Regions from separate parts of the Homo sapiens genome. Here all the other regions are linked to region 1. Evidence: promoter capture Hi-C in human tissues and cell types (Jung and others, 2019). All regions are on one chromosome and are shown on one strand. The core of a region is centred on a gene start or on the middle of the fragment in contact, and the rest is flanking DNA. Distances in the headings are between cores, read along the strand shown. Region 1 holds the start of SPRY1 (sprouty RTK signaling antagonist 1). Region 2 overlaps LINC01091 (long intergenic non-protein coding RNA 1091). Region 3 overlaps LINC01091 (long intergenic non-protein coding RNA 1091). Region 4 overlaps LINC01091 (long intergenic non-protein coding RNA 1091).

The links. Contacts are between HindIII fragments. The study calls those that stand out against the background at their distance.
Region 2: a contact is called between a fragment that was not itself captured here and the fragment with the promoter of SPRY1 in region 1, in 2 of the 25 tissues and cell types used here (aorta and dorsolateral prefrontal cortex).
Region 3: a contact is called between a fragment that was not itself captured here and the fragment with the promoter of SPRY1 in region 1, in 1 of the 25 tissues and cell types used here (dorsolateral prefrontal cortex).
Region 4: a fragment that was not itself captured here is called in contact with the fragment with the promoter of SPRY1 in region 1 in 2 of the 25 tissues and cell types used here (dorsolateral prefrontal cortex and heart left ventricle).

Annotation. Positions count from the first base shown.
Region 1 is chr4:123,394,847-123,400,007 of GRCh38, reverse strand. SPRY1 (sprouty RTK signaling antagonist 1) reads right to left here and starts at 3,213. Exons shown (of 3, transcript NM_001258038.2): 1 at 3,076-3,213; 2 at 2,152-2,397. RefSeq lists a silencer at 1,229-1,778. The HindIII fragment of the contact is 12,155 bases long and covers 1-5,161 here.
Region 2 is chr4:123,815,868-123,821,028 of GRCh38, reverse strand. All of the region lies in intron 3 of LINC01091 (long intergenic non-protein coding RNA 1091), which reads right to left. Among named protein-coding and RNA genes, the nearest start is that of LINC01091, 170 kb to the right of the region's middle. The HindIII fragment of the contact is 9,548 bases long and covers 1-5,161 here.
Region 3 is chr4:123,777,859-123,783,019 of GRCh38, reverse strand. The region is part of intron 3 of LINC01091 (long intergenic non-protein coding RNA 1091); the gene reads right to left. Among named protein-coding and RNA genes, the nearest start is that of LINC01091, 130 kb to the right of the region's middle. The HindIII fragment of the contact is 3,124 bases long and covers 666-3,789 here.
Region 4 is chr4:123,736,254-123,741,414 of GRCh38, reverse strand. All of the region lies in intron 3 of LINC01091 (long intergenic non-protein coding RNA 1091), which reads right to left. Among named protein-coding and RNA genes, the nearest start is that of LINC01091, 89 kb to the right of the region's middle. The HindIII fragment of the contact is 6,603 bases long and covers 1-5,161 here.

The sequences.
Region 1 (5,161 bases), core at 1,964-4,463:
AATTTGCATTTCCAATGATAGTTGTAACAAACTTCATACTGGCTGGGAAATAAAGTTGCCAGACAAAAAAATTAAAAGCAAAGAAAATTCGCCACCTCCGATCCGAAGAAAAGCCCATTTTCAAGCAGTGACAGTCTTGGACAAGCCCCAAACACGCTCACACGCGCTCGGCACACTGCCTTCCCCAAGAAAACGCGAATGGAAGTAGAATACCTTTTCGGACAATCCCATCACCATATTAAGGATCACCGTGGATTTCCAACACACTTTTTGGGTGGCCCACCAAGGTTTCTGAGAAATCATGAAGAGCCTTCAGCGTCCACGCGGGAGCCCAAAGCAAGCCCACGGTCTGGCTGACCCTAAGCAAGGATTTGTCTATGCTTTAAAGGAAAAGCTGGGTTCACCGAGGGCCGAGGAGAAAGAAGCCAGCGCAGGGGCGGCCACATTGCAAGTTACCACGGTGGAGCTGCGCCCTCTGCAATCCGCACTGAATAAATAGTTGACGGAAGAAGGAAAAGGAAAAAGTTATGAATGAAAACAAGTTCTTTCTCCCTCTCTCTGTGGTAGGAGGAGGGGAGGAGGCTGAGGTTACCATGAGCTCAGGAGGGCGGACTTCCCCACTTTTTTTTTTTGAGCCGGAGTCTCACTTTGTCTCCCAGGCTGGAGTGCAGTGGCGCGACCTTGGCTCACTGCAACCTCCGCCTCCCGGGTTCAAGCGGGTCTCCCGCCTCAGTCTCTCGAGTAGCTGTGACTACAGTCGCGCGTCACCACGGCCGGCTAATTTTTGCATTTTTAGTAAAGACGGGGTTTCATCAGTTGGTCGGGCTGGTCTCGAACTCCTGACCTCAGGTGATCAGCGCGCCTCGGCCCCCCCAAGTGCTGGGATTACAGGCGTGAGCCACCGCGCCCAGCCGACTTCCCCACTTTTAAAGTGGCAGTGCCCTCTCCCTTCCCCTGTCTTTGCACTGTGCTCCAAACCAGAAGAAAGTTGCGGCTGGCTTTGGGGCTGCCTAATTCTATCGAGGGGGTAATCGGCGAATTCCGGGGATGTGCCTACACACACACACGCACACACACAGCCTTTGTCGTCCCCCTGCTTGAGGCACACTCCTCCAAAGAGGGCCTCCGGGGACATCCCCAGAGCCGCCTGAAATCCCCCTTGGGCGTGAAGGGCTCTCCGAGAGGACAACCTGGGCCACCGCGCCGCCGCTCCGGGTAATCGGGGATGGAGGAGACCCTGTCCTGTTACGTTCCGCAGCCGCAGACCGTCGCCCACCCCGCCACCCAACCTTGAGCCCCCAGAAGCCGCGGCCCCCAGGGGGCAGGGAGCGGCGGGAGGGGCCGCGCCGAGCGAGGTCGTCCCTCCCCTCCCCTCCTCTCCCGGAGTCCTGGCTCGGGCAGCAGCGCCGCCGAGTCCGCACCTGCCGCGCCGAGCGAGCCCCGCCCGCGCGCCTACAGCCCAGCGGGCCGAGGGCGGCCGCCGCACACACTCACCTAGGCCGAAGCGGTGGCCGGGGGCCAAGCCGTGCGACCCGGCCCAGGTCCTGGTGCGGGCGGCGGCGTGCACGTGCCGCATCAACCGCGGCGGGGAGGGCGAGGCGGCATCGCCGGAGTTGGAGCGCCTCGGCTCGCGGCCTCCCCCGCCCCCGCCGCCACCGGCCAGGAGCGCTCCCCGCGGCCCCCTTCCGGCTGCGGAGGGCAGTTCTCCCGCGGCTCCGCGCGGCCGGGCCCGGACCTGTCACGGCTGGTGCTCGCCGGGCGGCTCAGTAACATCCACCTCGGGAGGTCTTCTGCAGCCCCTTTCCAAGAACCAGTTTTTACAAATCCTTTCAGGAAGGCTTCCCAAGTCTCAGAAAAACAAGTAGGGGAGTGGCGGAGTCGAGTGCGTGACGGGCCAGCTGACGGCACGGTGTGCTCAGAGAACTCGGGTTCTAGTCGCTCCTCGCAAGGAACGAAGGAAGGGATGGCGGCTTCCTGACGAGCGAAAAATCCACGTCACGGGCGTTCGAGACTCCGCAGCGCCCGGGTCGGGGCCCGAACCGCCGTCGGCGGGTGGGTCACGGAGCCGCGCAGTACCCCGGCGAAACCTCGGAGCACGCGCCTGCCAGGCAGAGGCTGCCGCGGCCGGGAGGGGGAGGGGGATTTTTTTACCCTTTTCTTTTTTTTTTTTTTTTTAGCGGGGAGGAGTGAAGAGAGTGAGGTTTGGGGATCCTTCTCGGAGAGAGAAAGGCGGGCGTCGTCCCTTGTGCCCCGCGCAGGCCGACGCGCTTAGCCGATTCCGCACGTTGGGCAAGTGGGGGCACAGCGTCCCCGGGCACTCCGGTCCCGGCAGGTCAGCCTCTCCCGGGCAGCGCTCACACCCAGTCCTCCGAGCCTGGGGTTCCACGGCCGAAATGCCTGCGACAGAGAATTAGAGATAGAAGCTCGTGAATGTCCCTTTCTTCGAAGGGCTGGGACCCCGGGCGGGCCGCTGGCCAGCTCGCCCGCAGCCCGTTGCCATGTGCTCCCTGTTGCTGCTCCCGGTGATTGACAGGCCGGCGCACAGTCGGCGTGTCAGCCGCGAACCAAAGTAACATGCAGTCCTGCACGTTTTTGCCGAGGTGCTTTTGCCCCCTGGAATGCCTAGGAGTTCAAACAACGTTCAAGCAACGCCTCTGCGCGTTAGGAATCAATACACAGAGACGGGAAATTCAGGTTTTAAACCAATGCTTCACTCGGGATTCGGTCGCCAACAATGCCTAAACAAACACGCATTTGGTCCACACACCGAGTGCTAGCCCCTCTTCGCATAAAGGCATTAACGGCTCTGTGTTTCACAAATTCGATCGTTTCAGACTTTAAACGTCTACTGTTCGGTTAAGGAAAGGTGAAAGGGACCCTGCTTTTTCTTTTAGCGGTAGCATTTACTTTAAGAGCATTAGTTTTAGCAGTGGGAATGCTACCGGTGTTTTGAAATGCAACCAGTAACCTTAGCTGGAAAGCAAGTTCAAATAAATAAATGTTCAGTTCCTTGCAAAAGTCAACATTTCTCACCTTATCTTTCCTAAAATGTCTACGGAAGGAAACGGTACTTACCTAATGCAAAGATTGCAAATTGCTTTTCAGGCACATTTAACAGCGACTGTAGCTGTTCCTTATCCAGGGCAGGGAACTGTGCTGATAATCACTCTGCAAAGCACGCAGTGGTTTGCAGAGCGGTCTCACTCCGGCTACGCAGAATTTCAGCTCCTTGCCTCCACCTCCACCTCCACTCCAGGACACGCCTCCGGTGATATCATGTGTCAATCACTCGGGCTGCCCGAAAACCTGGAACAGGATTTCCTTAACTATCGTTTCCTCTTTCGTTTATGTGTACCAACTTGGAAATGTTGCCCTACAGACTCGTGTAATAAACATCCTCTTAAAACTTCGGGAGTGCCTCTAAAAATTCTGCAAATGCAGTTTGTCATAGAGGAATACATTCGGATTTAGTTAGCAATCTTCAGTTGTCGATCTCAATTAAAAGGATTGGTGGACTCTACTCTTAAGTTGAATTAGAAAAGAATTGTGAAGAATAAAAGAAAATGAAAAAAGTTGTATGCCAAGCCATCACTTCTGACCAACTAGAGGGAAAACGTATATTGACACAAAAAGATGATTATATAACATTACAGTTCCTATTTACAACAAAGTTCAGAATATGTGAAACCTAAAGTTCAAAAGGTGGCACTCCTTACTGCAAATGTAATATAAGCATATGTAATAAAGGTGAAATTTTCTGCTGTGGGTTTTTTAAATAATTGCTTTACCTTGGCTTGTTATATGATTTCCCAAAAATCAAGCACATGGAGAAAAAACCAAATTCTTTCAATTTTGTAATATAGTTGTATAATTTTGCAAAAAATACAAACCCGTATATTTTTTAATTAGCTAAAAGTCAATTAATTAGAATAGAAAAAATTTATCAAGAAGTTTTATAATTCTTAGTAATAGCTGATATGACTGGAAAAAAAACACTTTAAGTAGGAAACTTGATTTCTACTTTCTTACAAACTATGGGATTTTAGGCATTTATTATCAAAGTTGTGCCTTTTCATGCTGCAGTGAGGATAACTTTTTGTGGAATTGAAGGTTCCGTAGAAACTTTTAAAAGCCACCTAAAGACCAAAAACTTAGTGGAAAGGAAATATTTTTCCAGGTACTATATATCAGGAGTAGCTTAAAGTCTGGCAAAACAAAGCAAACAATAACAAAACTCTAGAATCTAAATCATATAAACATATAAGTATGGAAATTTTTAGTTCAAAGTACATTTTTAGTCTCATTTACAATAGCAAGTGGTTCTGTTGAAACTATAAATATATACATACATAACACACACGCACACACACAGGACTTTCAAATGTCTGAGCACTTTCAAAAATTAAAGTTGTGTTTGGAATTGCCTCTGAAGAACACAGAGCATTGTTAAGAACATGAATAACAATAAAAAAGCATCATTAGAAAATAGCATAGAATAAGAATCAAGCCAAAAAGCTACATATTCACTCTTAATATTATGAATTGTATTAAAATAGGCTATTTAAAAGAATAAAATTGATTTCATTGTATTTTTTTCATAGATCTCATTAGATTTGGGGATGTAATGAAATTTTACTAGTGATGGATAGGTTTCTTGTGAATGTATTTGGAATAGACAAATCAAAAATAGACTATCCTATCAGAGTATCTTATTTGGTTCTTCAAAACTATTACCACAGTTGTGAGCTGAGAGGTCAGTTCACCAATATGATAAAACCTGGAGAGGGAGCACTGAACATTCTACCTTCATAAATCCTACAAAATATATTTGAAAGATTTCTATTGCAAATACACTCTATTTCAACCAGAAATGTATTAAAATAATTTTCATTAGATCAAGTATTTTTAAATTATAATAATCAAATCCATGAGATTTTTATCTAAAACACCATCACCATGGGTCATGTTGTATTAAGAAATTAAATATGCTGTACAGAGTTGATCAATAACCCTCCATGTCATTTAGCACTAAAATGCATTAATATGTTTTTCTCTAAATATTACATTACAAATAAATGTACGTATAGCTCTGTCACCTTGGTTCTAAAAGACATTGAATGAAACTTGCCTCTCCTGATTCCCCGCAACTATAAGACTTTGT
Region 2 (5,161 bases), core at 1,842-4,341, 420 kb before region 1:
CAGTACTATACATACAATGTGACAGACATAAGAAACTTGTTTCCAGGATGATACTTCTTACCCACAAATTCAATGAAAGTACTTACATTTAGTTCCCCCAGTACCTGGTTCATGACTAGTATAGCATTTATGGTATTGTATTACAATTTTTCTCACTGCCTCCTGCAATAGAATGGTAGCTCTTCAAATACAGAAACTATGTCGTTCTCATCACAAAATTTAAAACATAGTGCCTGACCCACCCTAGATTCTCAATTAATACATTTTAAATTGTAAAGGAATTAAATAATTCCAATTAATAAATAAATGAAAGATTTGGAGGCATCTTCCCACAAAATGAGGTTAAGGTAGGTGTGCTAATACTGTATATATAATGATGCCTCTAATGGTGACTTACTTTGTCCCATGGCTGTATATAAGATCCTTCAAAAGAAAATATCATTCGGAGTTTATAATCCAAGCAACTGATCATTTTCACAGATATCTCTATCTCATATCATACATATTTATTTACTATAAATAGAATATGTTATAATATGTTTAGGTATATAATACATATTAATATATTATAAAAGTATGTTAGTTAAAAGAGCGACAGATTTTCTTCACTTAATTAACTACTGTGTAAGAATGAATTCTGGCCTTTGCCCTGGCTTTCAGGAGGTGATCTCTACACCCTTGGAACTTCTGCGCGGTAGGAGTGTATTTGTTATTCATAACGAACCCTCAAGCACACCTCAACAGTTCATGCTAATGAGGTGATTTATGGTGAACCCCTTGGTGTCAACCCAACCTCCAGGGAGGGAGGAGAGCTGGAAACATGGCAATGATTCAATCAATTATTCCCACATAATGAAGCTCCCATGAAAACTTCAGATACTGAAGATCAAGTGAGGCTCCTCCTGGGCAGTATTCATTGAGTATTGTCTCACATAGTAGCCTGGAGGAGGTAATGCCATCCAGGATTCCACCTGGAGATGACCAGAAACTTTGCCTCCCAGAATTTGCCCAGTGTGTCTCTTTCTTTGGCCAGTTCTAATTTGCCTCCTTTCAATAGAAAACTAATTGCAAATATAGCACTTTCCTGAGTTCTGTGAGTCATAATAGCAGGTTATCAAAACTGAGTGTGGTTTTGGGAAGTCTCTGAACTTGCAATTGCTGTCCAAAGGTGAGGGCAGTCTTGTGGGGACTGTTCCCTCTGATGTTGCAATTTGGCAAACTCCTTACAACTACTTAGAGGAGATAGTATTTATGTTTCATTTCTCTTTTGTAGAGAAGAAAACTATCATAATGGGAGATCTAATGAAGCTCAAAAGCAAATAAGAGAAACAGGTGGATGAAGAAGGGGAGCCCAGAAGATAACAGACCATCAAGAAGTTTTAGAGTTAAGAAAAAGAAAAAGTGATGCTCAATCTTTGCCATATTGTTTGAATATTTGTCAAGTTGTATGAGTAATAGAATATGGAGAGAAATGAGTCATGTCCATAATTTGGTAAGCCTGAGATCAGGAGGGCAAAGAGATGGATACTAGAGAATTAGGAGTTATCTAGATCTAGTTAGTATCCTCATATCATCTAGGAGTCCACAGAACTCAATGTGGAAGAATGAATGTGCCCACTTGAAATGAATAAAATATTCTTTTCACAACAAAATGAATGATTTTGGATAAGCCATTCTTCCTGCCTCACAAAGGGAAGTGATGAACATCCTTAATAATCAAAGGTATTGCCACTGAAAATGGAAATCCTTTTACTGTAAGTCCTTCTTTTGAAAGGAAGGACCATATTCTTTTTTTTTTTTTTTTTTTGAGACAAGAGTCTTGCTCTGTTGCCAGGGCTGGAGTGCAGTGGCGCGATCTCAGCTCACTGCAACCTCCGTCTCCCGGGTTCAAGCGATTCTCCTGCCTCAGCCCCCTGAGTAGCTGGGACTACAGGTGTGCCACCACACCCACCTAATTTTTGTAGTTTTAGTAGAGATGGGGTTTCACCATGTTGGCCAGGATGATCTCGATCTTTTGACCTCGTGATCCGCCCTCCTGAGCCTCCCAAAGTGCTGGGATTACAGGTGTGAGCCACCACACCCAGCCAAGAAGGACCATATTCCAAACATTGTTTTATATCATATTGTCTATCTTGTTTGAGTTTCCTGCATTTTTTTTTATGAATGATTTAAAAGACACCGATCAAACCCATAGTTCTAGGGCACATGAGAATGTAATGTTCAATATGTGCTTGAAGAACAACCATGCAGGGACTGTCAATCAGGGCTGCAAACTAAGATATTTAAAGAGTAGCCAACAGTCAGGACGGGTAAGTCAAATTTGAGGGACTACAGAATTCAAGGAAAAGTCAGGAATGTGGGGAATCTTAACTAATCAAGAATTTAGGGCGGGACTTAGGGAGTCAATTAATCAGGCAGCTCAAAGCAGAACTATACAGCTACTGGGATATGTAGGGGGGTCATATATGCTTATCGCCATTTTATAAGGAGGCTGTCCTATTCAATGAAATTATCTTAGAATGTGGGAAAATTTAGCACCTATTCTCCAAAAGCAGAAAAAAGGACAGAGTGCCTCTGTAACAATGTATGTCTACACAGACATGACTACAGGGATTTATGGAGGGTTCAGTAAGTGTCACACTAAACAAAGTCTAGGATGAAAAGTGAAAGCCATTAGCCGTTTTTTATTCAGAGTGGAGCCCTAAGGAATGGTATAGCACAATACAAAATTTTGTTATTTAATCAGGAAAAATTCAAATCCCTTAACACAGGATCAGCATACAATAGAAACTCAAATGAGGGACTCCTTATGACAAAATGAAGGGAAAACAGGTAATTCAAACTAAAATAATTAAAGGAGACAATACAAATTTAAGGAAATTTAAGTCTGCTAACTATATAAAAATACATAATACTTTTTGAATATGCTGTTCCCTCTACAAAGAACGCAGTTCTCCAACACATTTGCCTCTTCGTCCAATTAATTTCCCACCACATGTCAGCTCCAGTGCCTTTGTTTTCCCAAGAGAAGCCTTAACGTGTCTCCAGTGAGTTTCCTTTATTTTATATTCTCATACAACTTTGCTCTTTCTTTTATCTCTTATATTTCAATTTTCAATTACATAAGCATTTGTATAATACCTTTCTCCACCACAAGACTGTAGGTACTATATCTATCTTTATTCACTATTTTAACCCTATCACCTAGAATATAGCTTTTCTCTCGCTAGCAGTTCAAACATATGGCTTGAGTGCATAAATGGATGAATAAATGAATGTCATCACCAACAGAAGCCATTAGTATACTTTTAATTCCAATTAAAATAAGCAGAATACAATGTGTTTGTCCATAAAGATCAGATTAACACGTAGAAAAAAATCTGAGGGAAATGAAGGACAAATACAGAATACTACTGAAATTTCCCCTTTCAGAAATTAAAAAAAAAATAATAATTGAAACTGGTGACTTCCCTTTCTTTGGGCAATGTCTCCTCTAAACCCAGTTACTGAAATCAGATGACATAATGAAGTAACTGTACAGTAATTTATCTGTGCCAATGGAGGATGCTTTTGAAAACAGTCTTAGTCATGTTTCCATTACATTCAGCAGCGTTATTCGCTTCTGAAGCTCCCAGTTGTAATTGTGATGAGGAGAGTTGGAGAAGAACTTGGTGAAAATGATTATAAAGCAGAGAAACAGATACCATGATGAAAGCTTAAAGGAATCAGGATTATTTCATTCCCAGAAAAAAGCCGGCAGATTAAATAATGGAATCATATGGGTGGTAAGCAGCTGTTCTACATTCCCAACAAACATAGGTAAGGGAAGAAGGACTCAAGCTCAGCATCAAGAAATCCTCCTCCGGGCCAACAAACCCTCCATCATACCGACACGTGTAGCAGTTAACCTCCCACTTTGAATGCTCAGCCTCTTCTCTCTTTCCTCATGGATCTCCTTACAAGTTCTTCTTGTAAAAAAAATCTCTATGACTACAAAAGTTTGTGAAAACTCTCCCAAGCCACCACTCATCCTCTACAGCAATTATTTTAATCCAGTGTCTCTGAAATATTTTTAAAGCATTTGATTAAGAAGCCTCAAAAGGGTGTCAGATTTCCTTAATGTCTTAAGTCAAAAACAAAAACATATCAGTGTGGATGAAACACATATATAATTTTCCATAATGTTGGGATACACACTCAGGAAGACAAGATTTTTAAGGGAACACATGCCTGGTTGTGTTGTTGTGTATTGGCTCAAATCTAAATTCCTCTTCCTCCCTTTTTAAGCTCGTCATCAGTAGCAGTCCTGATTGGAAGCAGGTGAGTGAAGACGGTAAGGATTAGGTTGCAACATTCCTTTCAGATTTAGAATAACATGTCCTTGAAATAACACTAGGTCATCAGTTTTTATTGAGCTGCATAAGCTCACCAACTTATTGCATAAACTTTATTCCCAGCCCTGGGCTTCTTTTCCCTTTGCTGATACTGGCAAGTATCAATATGAGTACAGAAAAGTTGAAAGTGAAGGGGGATAGATGGTATTCAGATCATCCTATCTGACTTCAGTATTTGTAGCCACTGATAATCCCAATTAGGAAGCAAACTAAATGATTGTTTTCCTTTACTGACTCACCACCCCAAACTGCCCCTAAAGACTAGTGATTTTGGGCCTTATTCACAAAAGAGTGCTTAATATGTTGTGTTCAATTTGAGGTCCTGGGATCCATCGTAAGTTTTTCCTCTACATCTTTGTCAAGTGGTATAGACAGTGATAACACATCTTGATATCACTGCCCACTTCGAGCATAACAAATGGTGATGTCTTTTCCCAGGAAAGCATACCCATTTACTCAACAAATCCAGTGATACAATGATGAACAAGACCAAAGTTCAAGAAATTTTTTACAGGTTCCTGTTTTTTATTCTCACTGGCTCAATGAAAACAGTGACAAATATTATAAAAAGTCACATATATTTTCAACAAAATAATTGAAAAGATTCCCAGTTCTAACTTTAGTTACAAATTCTATTTAGGTACCCTGACCATTTCTTCCCCCATGTTACCTGACCAAATTAAGGTAGGAAACAAATCTAGCAGAAATGTGTCTGGTGGAAGTCAATTACTAAAAAGTGTTCCCTAAATGAAAAAAAAAAAAAAGTC
Region 3 (5,161 bases), core at 978-3,477, 380 kb before region 1:
TACATTTTTCTTTTAGGCAAAGTATAGGATATGCTAAAGACTTGTACATTAAGTTGTGATATTAATGGAAGGACAGACAGTGAACTGGATACATTTTGATTAAACTATGGCATACAGGAGTCTAAGTGACTTTTCTATCATCTATGCCAGGAAACATATCTACTAGGTTATTTTATTTTCTCCTTTGAAATATTCAGCATCCAACTTGCCCCCCAATTAAAAATGACTGAAATAGCATGGCCCACTTCTTGAAGAAGTCATGAATAAAACCCAAATCTCTGGAGTCTGTTGTCCTTGAAATACATAAAGGCTGAATGCTCAGAAGAAGTAGAAAAAAAATAGTTCTGAAACTCTTGGACAAATAAGAAGAGCCACTCTAAGCAGGGACTAAATTGGATTGGAATGTATGTTTGGATTATTCAGCCAAAGTAGATAATCAAGTATAACAAAACAAAAGCTTGATACCAAACTTGCGGGAAAATTTGTTTTGTCATCCTGAAACCTTCTCCGCTTTAAGCAAATCTTCCCCACCCAAAAGCAAATATCTTATCATACACCATGTTATTGGTCTTGGTCCACTGCACTGACCATAAAGGTAAGGAATCAGCCCACTATTTAGAGAAAATCCTGATTACATAAATTTAGTTTTCCAGTGGAGAAATTAGTCAATTTAAATGTATTTTACCTAAGTACATATCTACTAAATACTATATAATGTACTTGTCAAATTATTAGAAATCAGTAAGTCATGTTTCTATATGTTCAACACTGAGCCAGACACATTGAAAGACATAAAAGACAGCTCCCGTCATCATGATTACTGCCCAATTAATTAAGCAGTTGCTAATATTTGGAAACCTCAAGTCAAAAAGCTTAATAAAAATGCAATGATTTAATATGTCTACCAATTCCAATTCTCAAGTTCAATTGATTCAAATAATATAATTCTGAAACTAATTCATATGTTTGGAAGGACTCCAAGCCTTATTGTCACCACTCAAAATTTCTACCCCCATATAGAACAAGTTTTTCTTTCCTAGAATCATTCTTCCTGGAAGTAGTTTCCACTTCCAAGTTAAAACTGGATCTTTATCTTCACCCCTACTTTTCAAATCCCCCTCTTGATCTAGCTCTTGCCTCTCCCAACCTTCTGGTACATTCCTTAAGTCCTTCCTCCTCCTAAAGATCAGACTCTAGTGTCAAGGCAAAATTCTAACATCTTTAATGGTACAGGCCAACATTACAAAGTACATTGGCAAATGTAATTTATAACTTAGAATTTCATACACATTTCTTTTACATACACATGCATAAGCCTGCTTTCAAAATGCCAGACTTCAACATAGTATTGGGACTTCTGGCCAGGGCAATCAGGCAAGAGAAAGAAATAAAGGGTATTCAAATAGGAAGAGAGGAAGTCAAATTGTCTCTGTTTGCAGACGACATGATTGTATATTTAGAAAACCCCATTGTCTCAGCCCAAAATCTTCTTAAGCTGATAAGCAACTTCAGCAAAGTCTCAGGATACAAAATCAATGTGCGAAAATCATAAGCACTCCTATACACCAGTAATAGACAAACAGAGAGCCAAATCATAAGTGAACTCCCATTCACAATTGCTACAAAGAGAATAAAATGCGTAGGAATACAACTTACAAGGGAAGTGAAGGACCTCTTCAAGGAGAACTACAAACCACTGCTCAAGGAAATAAAAGAGGACACAAACAAATGGAAAACATTCCATGCTCATGGATAGGAAGAATCAATATTGTAAAAATGCCCATACTGCCCAAAGTAATTTATAGATTCAATGCTATTCCCATCAAGCTACTATTGACTTTCTTCACAGAACTAGAAAAAACTACTTTAAATTTCATATGGAGGCAAAAAGAGCCCATATAGCCAAGACAATCCTAAGCAAAAAGAATAAAGCTGGAGGCATCACACTACCTGACTTCAAACTATACAAGGCTATACTCTCTCAGAAGAGAGTGACTATAATATGCTTGATCTCCCCAAAGGAGACAACATGGAAAAGGACTTCAGTTGTACCAGGAGGAATTTAATTTAGAAAGCAAGATTTCCTGACATTGTGATTGAAGGTTCAAACAGGTTACAAAAATTGTTATGAAATCTCTTCTTAGAGGTCTCAAAAATATAACATTAACAGTTTTGAAATAAGACCTTGAATAGCAAATGCTGATTATTTTGATTAATCCTTTTTGAGAGAATAGTTGATCAATGGCTCTGGTAGCTAAGGGACTGGCAATGCAAAAACCAAACCAGCATGATACTGGTACCAAAACAGATATATAGACCAATGGAACAGAACCGAGGCCTCAGAAATAATACCACACATCTACAACCATCTGATCTTCGACAAACCTGACAAAAACAAGCAATGGGGAAAGGATTCCCTATTTAATAAATGGTGCTGGGAAAACTTGCTAGCCATATGCAGAAAACTGAAACTGGGCCCCTTTTTTATACCTTATACAAAAATTAACTCAAGTTGAATTAAATACTTAAGTGTAAAACCTAAAACCATAAAAACCCTAAAAGAAAACCTAGGCAATACCATTCAGGACATAAGCATGGGCAAAGACTTCAAGACTAAAAAAACAAAAGCAATTGCAACAAAAGCCAAAATTAACAAATGAGATCTAATTAAACTAAAGAGCTTCTGCACAGCAAATAAAACTATCATCGGAGTGAACAGGCAACCTACAGAATGGGAGAAAATTTTTGCAATCTACTCATCTGACAAAGGGCTAATATCCAGAATCTACAAGGAACTCAAACAAATTTACAAGAAAAAAAAATAAGCCCATCAAAAAGTGAGTGAAGGATATGAACAGACACTTCTCAAAAGAAGACATTTATGTGGCCAACAACATATGAGAAAAAGCTCATCATCACTGGTCATTAGGGAAATGCAAATCAAAACCAAATTGGGATACCATCTCACACCAGTTAGAATGGCGATCATTAAAAAGTCAGGAAACAACAGATGCTAGTGATGCTGTGAAGAAATAGGAACGCTTTTACACTGTTGGTGGGAGTGTAAATTAGTTCAATCATTGTGGAAGACAGTGTGGCGATTCCTCAAGGATCTAGAACTAGAAATACCATTTGACCCAGCAATCCTGGGTATATACCCAAAGGATTATATACCATTTTACTATAAAGACACATGCACACGTATGTTTACTGCAGCACTATTCACAATAGCAAAGACTCGGAAGCAACCCAAATGCACATCAATAATAGACTGGATAAAGATAATGTGGCATATATACACCACGAAATACTATGCAGCCATAAAAAAGAATGAGTTCATGTTCTTTGCAAGGACATGGATGAAGCTGGAAACCATCATTCTCAGCAAACTGACACAGGAACAGAAAACCAAACACCACATGTTCTCACTCCTAAGTGGGAGTTGAACAACGAGAACACATGGGCACAGGGAGGGGAACATCACCCATCGGGGCCTGTCGCGGGGTGGGGGGCAAGAAGAGGGAGAGCATTAGGACAAATACCTACTGTATGCAGGGCTTAAAACCTAGATGACGGATTGATGGGTGCAGCAAACCACCACAGCACATGTATACCTATGCAACAAACCTTCACCTGTATCCTAGCCCTTAAAAAATAATTTTAAAGAAAAGAATTTTTTAAACCAAAGCTTCTAACATGAGTTGGTTCCTCTCCCTTGTGGAAAGCATAGGCTTGGTAGTCAATGCTTTGCAGTAGTGAGTTCACCACCACAGACAATAAATCCTATCTGTAGTGAGGGACAAAAAAAGGTCTCATTCTCGGAGAAATACAGAGGTAAAAGAAAGAAAGTTAGGCCTAAGGGAAATTACTGTTGCTGGGTGTCCATAAAGCTTGGCTGCATCCCTCTCTTTTAATGCTTGCTTTGTTCAGAACTTCACTGGATTCTATGAGCCAATAAATTCCCTATTTTTCTTAAACTAGTTGAAGTTGGGTCTCAGTCACATGCAATTCAAGGAGTTCTAACTCATATAATTGCCCTCATTTTTTTCATACACCTATTCCCCTTTCACCAATTGCAAGCTTCTGGGATGCAGGTATATTAGGCTGTTCTTGCATTGCTACAAAAAATTCCTGAGACTGAGTAATTTATAAAGAAAAGAGGTTTAGTTGGCTCACGGTTCTGCAGGCTTTAGAGGAAGCATGGTGCTAGCATCTGCTCAGCTTCTAGGGAGGTCGCAGGAAGCTTACAATTATGGCGGAAGACAAAGGGGAAGCAGGCACATAGCGAGAACAGGAACAAGCAAGAGAGAGATTGGGGTGGGGGTGCCACACACTTTTAAATGAGCAGATCTTATAAGAACTCCCTATTCCAAAGACAGCAGCAAGCCATGAGGGATCTGCCCCCATGATCCAAACACCTCCCACCAGGCCCCAACTCCAGCATTGGGGATTACAATTCAACATGAGATTTGGGTGGGGGCAAATATCCAAACTATATCAACAGGGGACATTTTTTACTTATCCACAGTCCTTAACATGATTTGTGGCACAGAGTGGCCATGTAAATAAATAAGTGATAGAATGAATGAGTTGAGTGAATATGCCATGAATTAATGAACCTAGAATAATAACTCATTATTAAATTCAGCAGCAACCAATATCTCTACCCTATGACTGGTGTATTGTCACTAACAAGTCCTAAGGTAACGAATTTAAACACGTAGTCAATCTAAAATGGGAGATGTAATAGAAAACATATACAAAGATAAACATATAAACAAAATTAGCCATGGAAATAGCTACTTATCCTGTTTATTACTGATTAAATAACAGTTTATATTAGGTAAAGGAAAAATCAACACCCTTCTAAACTTACCACAATTTTAAACTTAGGGACCATCATGAAACCAAAGCCTATATTAACTAAAATTCCCTCTCTCTGTTTCTGTTTTTACAGGTATTTAAGTTTAATAATATCTACATTTTCACCCAGATCTTTATAGATGCAAGAATTATAATACCAATGAAAGCTTTAAATATGATACAAATGACCTTGTAAAGACATTTCATAAACTCGTTCATTTAAAAAAGTAACAAAATGTTTCTAACACAAGGATACATTTTTAAGAGAATAAATGGGTGTTTGAATGAAAATAGCATG
Region 4 (5,161 bases), core at 1,490-3,989, 340 kb before region 1:
ATCTAATATTAAGTAGAAAAATGCAAAATCAGGACTCTTCGTACTCTCAAAATTATGTTGAACTATACAATATTTTTAACAATATATGCCACACTGTGCAATAGAACTAAATACATATACACACACACACACACACACACACACACACACACACATATATATATTCCTCATGCCTCAGTGAGATTTTTAACACTTTGGTCATCATCTTCCCATCCTCTGTAATGTCACTTTGTACCCCATAAATTTATACAATTATAAATTGACAATTTATAATGAAAAATTAAAAAATAAAAATTATATTGACATCAATTCTCACCATAGACATTTATCTACTGGGGCTAGATATATTTTTCACCTTTTGAATTTTCAAAACCTTTTCTCACTGGTGTTTCCCAATATGATTTATTTCAAGTCTCCATTCTTATAATATTCTTGAAAATGTTGGATTAACATAAGAAAGGAAGAGCTTTTATAATACAGAGAAGGAAATTAAGAGCAGATTCATCAAATATGATTTTTATCAGACTAACAACAATACACGTCTGCAATTTAAATATATCTTGACTCAGTTAAATTCTAGAAGGCATTGTTTAATGTCAAAGCCCAGAGGAAGACACTCTAGGCAACTACCACATCACAAATATTCCAGATGTTTCTGGAACACACAGTTCCCTCCCCACTATCAGCCTGTGACGACCACCATTCAGCCTTTTGCACTATTATTCTAAATTGCATGTTGAATGTTTATGTTAAAAAAACAAAACAAAAGAAAGAGGAAAATAAACTTGAACGAAAACATACTTTGTTTTCTGTCCAAGAAAATAAAATGTGCATTTATTGACAAACATATGAATGAATTTCCTTAGAATGATGTAACCCCTCCAAAAAAAATCACAGAAGTCATCACCATGGGTGGTAGGATGCTGAGTTTCCCACAGGAAGCAGCATAGGTAATTGCTTGTTTGTTTTTGTACTGAGAGCATTCTATTATGTGCCTACGGGTTTCTTCTATGAGAAAATCTGCTGATGGGCCATTTTGTTTCACGCATTTTGTAGGTATTTGTCTCATGTGTTTAGAAAGTCCATTATCTTAATATGTGTTCTGTAGAAGAAATGAGTAAATGGGAAATACATGTGGTTGGCAAACAAGCTATACTATGACATAAGAAAAAAATCTACAAATAATGTAAACATATGAATTCCACCTTTTAAAATATAGTCCCTTCTGGAATAAGACTGCAAATTGGAGAAGAGCTAAATTATCTGTCCAGTTAAGTTGTCTGAAAGAAATTTAAAGTCAGGCCACTATCAGGCAAGCCCCATGAAAGGAAGTAAAATTCCTTCGTCAGTCACTGCCTTCATCCCCACGGATCCCAGTGAGGTCAATTTAAGAGTTCTACAAATAACCGTGGTTGGTGTACACTGAACCACATAGCATGCTAGAAGGTGGGGATACAGAAATGAATAATATGTGGTCCCTGCTGTCACAGAATTTATTCCATCAGAAAAACACAGACCCATAAACAGGCCATTCCAAAGTAACAGGGTCTATAATGACAGAGCTATTCCCAGCGAGCAGTTGAATCCAAAGGAAAGGAGGGTACTTGGCTCAGTAGGAAGAAGGCAAAAGCCTCATGGAAGCCTTCCCAGAGGAGACAAGCTCTGTGCTGAGCTTGGAAGAATGGATTGGAGACTTGGAGTCGGTAAGGTAAAGATGGGCAGACAAACATTACACAAGAAGCACCGACACATAAATTCAAAGCAGGATGTGATGTGCCGGGCACTGAAAGACAGTATCACCAGGGTACAAATTTTAAAGTGGGAAGACAAGGCTGCAAGAGCGCAGACCTTAGGGAATATGTGTACCACGTTCAGGAGCTTGGATGTTATCCAGTGGGTATTGGGAAGCACCTGAAAAACAGAACTCCTCCAATTCCTTCATGTCTCTCCCTTGTCACCAGCACATAGGACAACAGGGAAGTTACCCCCATTGGAAACAGGGGAGTGGAGGAGCCGGACCAGCCTGTTCTTTCTCCCCACCCCGCTGCCATCCTGAATTACTGTGTATTCTCCCTGTGCGGCCCCACTGGATTGAACATAGAGTATCTGGGACACAGAATAGAAGGGTAATAAGCTTCACAAAGAAGCGATATTAGAAAAAGACGTTAATTCTAATGCATGGCAAGGGAAAAAAACCATCAATAGCTAGAAATCAGAGAAGGAAGGCGAAGCATGAGCAAAGGAGATGGCACATGTAGAGGTGTGGGAAAATACATGCAAGGATGAGAGCCGAATATCCAGGAACACACTGGAAAGCATGTAAATCACTGCAAGAGAGTAGGCCTAGGTTTGTTTCACATGTGAAACAGTGTTTCGATGCTCAAATAAGTTATTCCTATACATATTGTAGTAGGTATATGATGGTATCTATTCTAAAATCTTCACATGGAAATCGGTCCCTACTTTATGTCATGGTCTATATTCACATAACAAATGAAATTAACCAGAAAAAAATATATATTGGAAATATTGAGTGAGAGAGTTGATCTGAGCGAGGGGAAAAAAACATAGGAAGAAGGAAGGCTGGACAAAGAAGAAGAGACATAAACAACTACAGCGATAACAGTAATTATAGAATGCTTACGATGTGCTACTATGGGCAGTTAAGGGCCTTCAGTGCATCTCATTTAATTCTCAACAGACTATTATTTTCCCCATGTTACAAGTGAGGAAACTGAAACTTAGAGGGTTTGAACAGTAGAGATGCTAAACTGAGGCCATGCAGGTAGTATATGGCAGGACTGGAACTGGAATCCAGGCAGTCAGAATCCAAACCCCCTAAGAGGGAAGAGATTGCCCTAGTAAAGAGAATAACTACAGGTTTTAACAATGCATTTAGTGAGGCAATACAAACAAAAAACAAACAAAATCCTAACAACAACAAAAACAGACTTCCTTGTGCAGAAATGTCATGAAAAAAGAAGAAACTAGGCTAGGGGTGGTGGCTCACGCCTGTAATCCCAGCACTTTGGGAGGCCGAGGCAGCTGGATCACTTGAGGTCAGGAGTTCAAGACCAGCCTGGCCAACATGGTGAAACCCCATCTCCACTAAAAATACAAAAAGTAGCTGGGCATGGTGGCGGGCGCCTGTAATACCAGCTACTCGGGACGCTGAGGCAGGAGAATTGCTTGAACCTGGGAGGCGGAGGTTGCTGTGAGCTGAGATTGCACCACTGCACTCCAGCCTGAGCGACAGAACGAGACTCTGTCTCCAAACAAACAAACAAACAAAACTAGTTTAATTGTCTCCAGAATGTCTGTGATAAAAAATTAACATCTGTACTCTTTTTCCAGCATGCTCCAAGTATAGACCATTATGAGGCACAGTAATTTGTTACTACTAACGAAGAATCTTAGATTATAAATGAAAATTCTGTAGGGAAAAAATAATGTCACACATCTAGAAAGAAACTATGAACAATATGCCTTACTTGATACGCGTACACATATTCTCCTAAAGGGAAAAAAAAAATTGCCATGCGTGTAAGTCCTGGCTACAAAAGAAAGGGATTTGCCTAAAGTTCTGACAGTGGAAGTGAAAAAAATCACTTTAGAAAAGGTCTCTTGTCAGCAAAATAAATTTCTAATTAGCCGTATCTTTCAATCAGCTAAATAAAGAGAGCAACTAATTACTCTGACCAGGAATTTCTTTATTCAATATTTTTTAGTCATCACTAATAGCCTTGAGAGCTTCATGATTCTGAATATTTCTTCATATTCAGGCAGAGTTAATCTGACTGTTGGGTCTGATTGCTCTGTAAAAGGACACTGCCCTGAAAATTGTTATATTCCATAAACTACAGGTTAGTTCAAACATGTAATAATGCCAGCTTCAAGAAGACAGTCCATAAAGTCATCATTTTATACCTCTAATTTTTATATTAATCTTTTTTAAAATAGTGCCTTTATCATCATTATTAATACTTACTGGTGGCTGATGACATCTTTAAATGATCAATGCAGACTTACATTCCAAACATCCTAAAATTCATTGATTCAGCAAATTTGTATCAAATGTCTAACAGGTCAATGAACTATAGAGGATGTTTTAGTGATAAGTAAGACAGGGAGTTGGAAACCAAGGGCCTTACAATTTAGTCAGCATCTCTTTTTATCAAATAACTCCCATAATCAAAGCGTAAATACTTAAATAAACTCACAGGCTAATCTTCCCCAGTACCTCTAAGCAAAGTTTATCTCCTAAGGGGCGATCTTTGTTCTATTTTCTGCATAACTTAACCATATTAAGAAACCCAGCCCATTTAGTAAGACTTCTATTTCTATGTCAATGGTGAATATGATGCCTGAAATTTTTACTTTTTCTTTCCAAATGCAGCAAAGTTCTAAATGTTCTTGTGGAGGAAGAAAACCAACTACAGAAATTATTTACTTTTTTAAAATTTTAAATGTGACATCTTCAAGTCATACTTTACACGATAAAACATTTCCACTTGCTGACGTGCTCCCCTCTAGCTGAAATGACACAATCATTTCAACCCACTGAATTTAAAATTGAAATACCTCTTTCTTCTTTCAGAAAGAAAGAGCCACCCTATGATTAAAATTTCCCACAGTTGCTTTTAAAGTGCTTAACATTTAAAAAAAAAAAAAAGTTTTTCTCTATTTTTATCGGAAATTACCCTCCCTACACAAACACTGTGGCTGGCTCTATGAGTGGCTTTGCAATAGTAGCCTTGCCCTCCCTCCATTCTCTGACTCTTTCTAGGAGTGCAAATGGACAGCTAGCTGCCTTTGAGGATTTTCTATCTTGTTCCACAGCCTCCCTCCAAACACTGGTTCCTTTCCCCTTTCCAGCGGCAGCTTCCCTCACATTGCTGAACAGCACAAAATGTCCTCTCAATCTGGTACTAGTTGCTATAGGAAATTGAGTTTTCAGATGATACAACGTTTAAACCAAATAACCTACTTAAACCTTTTCAAGTAAGAATATCTCTGAATTACTCCTGAGGTCATTATGTTTCCCTCTGCACTGCCTTTATTGGGCCATCGTCATTATTAAGTTATTTATTCACCCAACACTTTCTAAACATCTCTATTATGCAAATCACTTTACTAGGCCCTGCAGGAGAGAACTTTATGA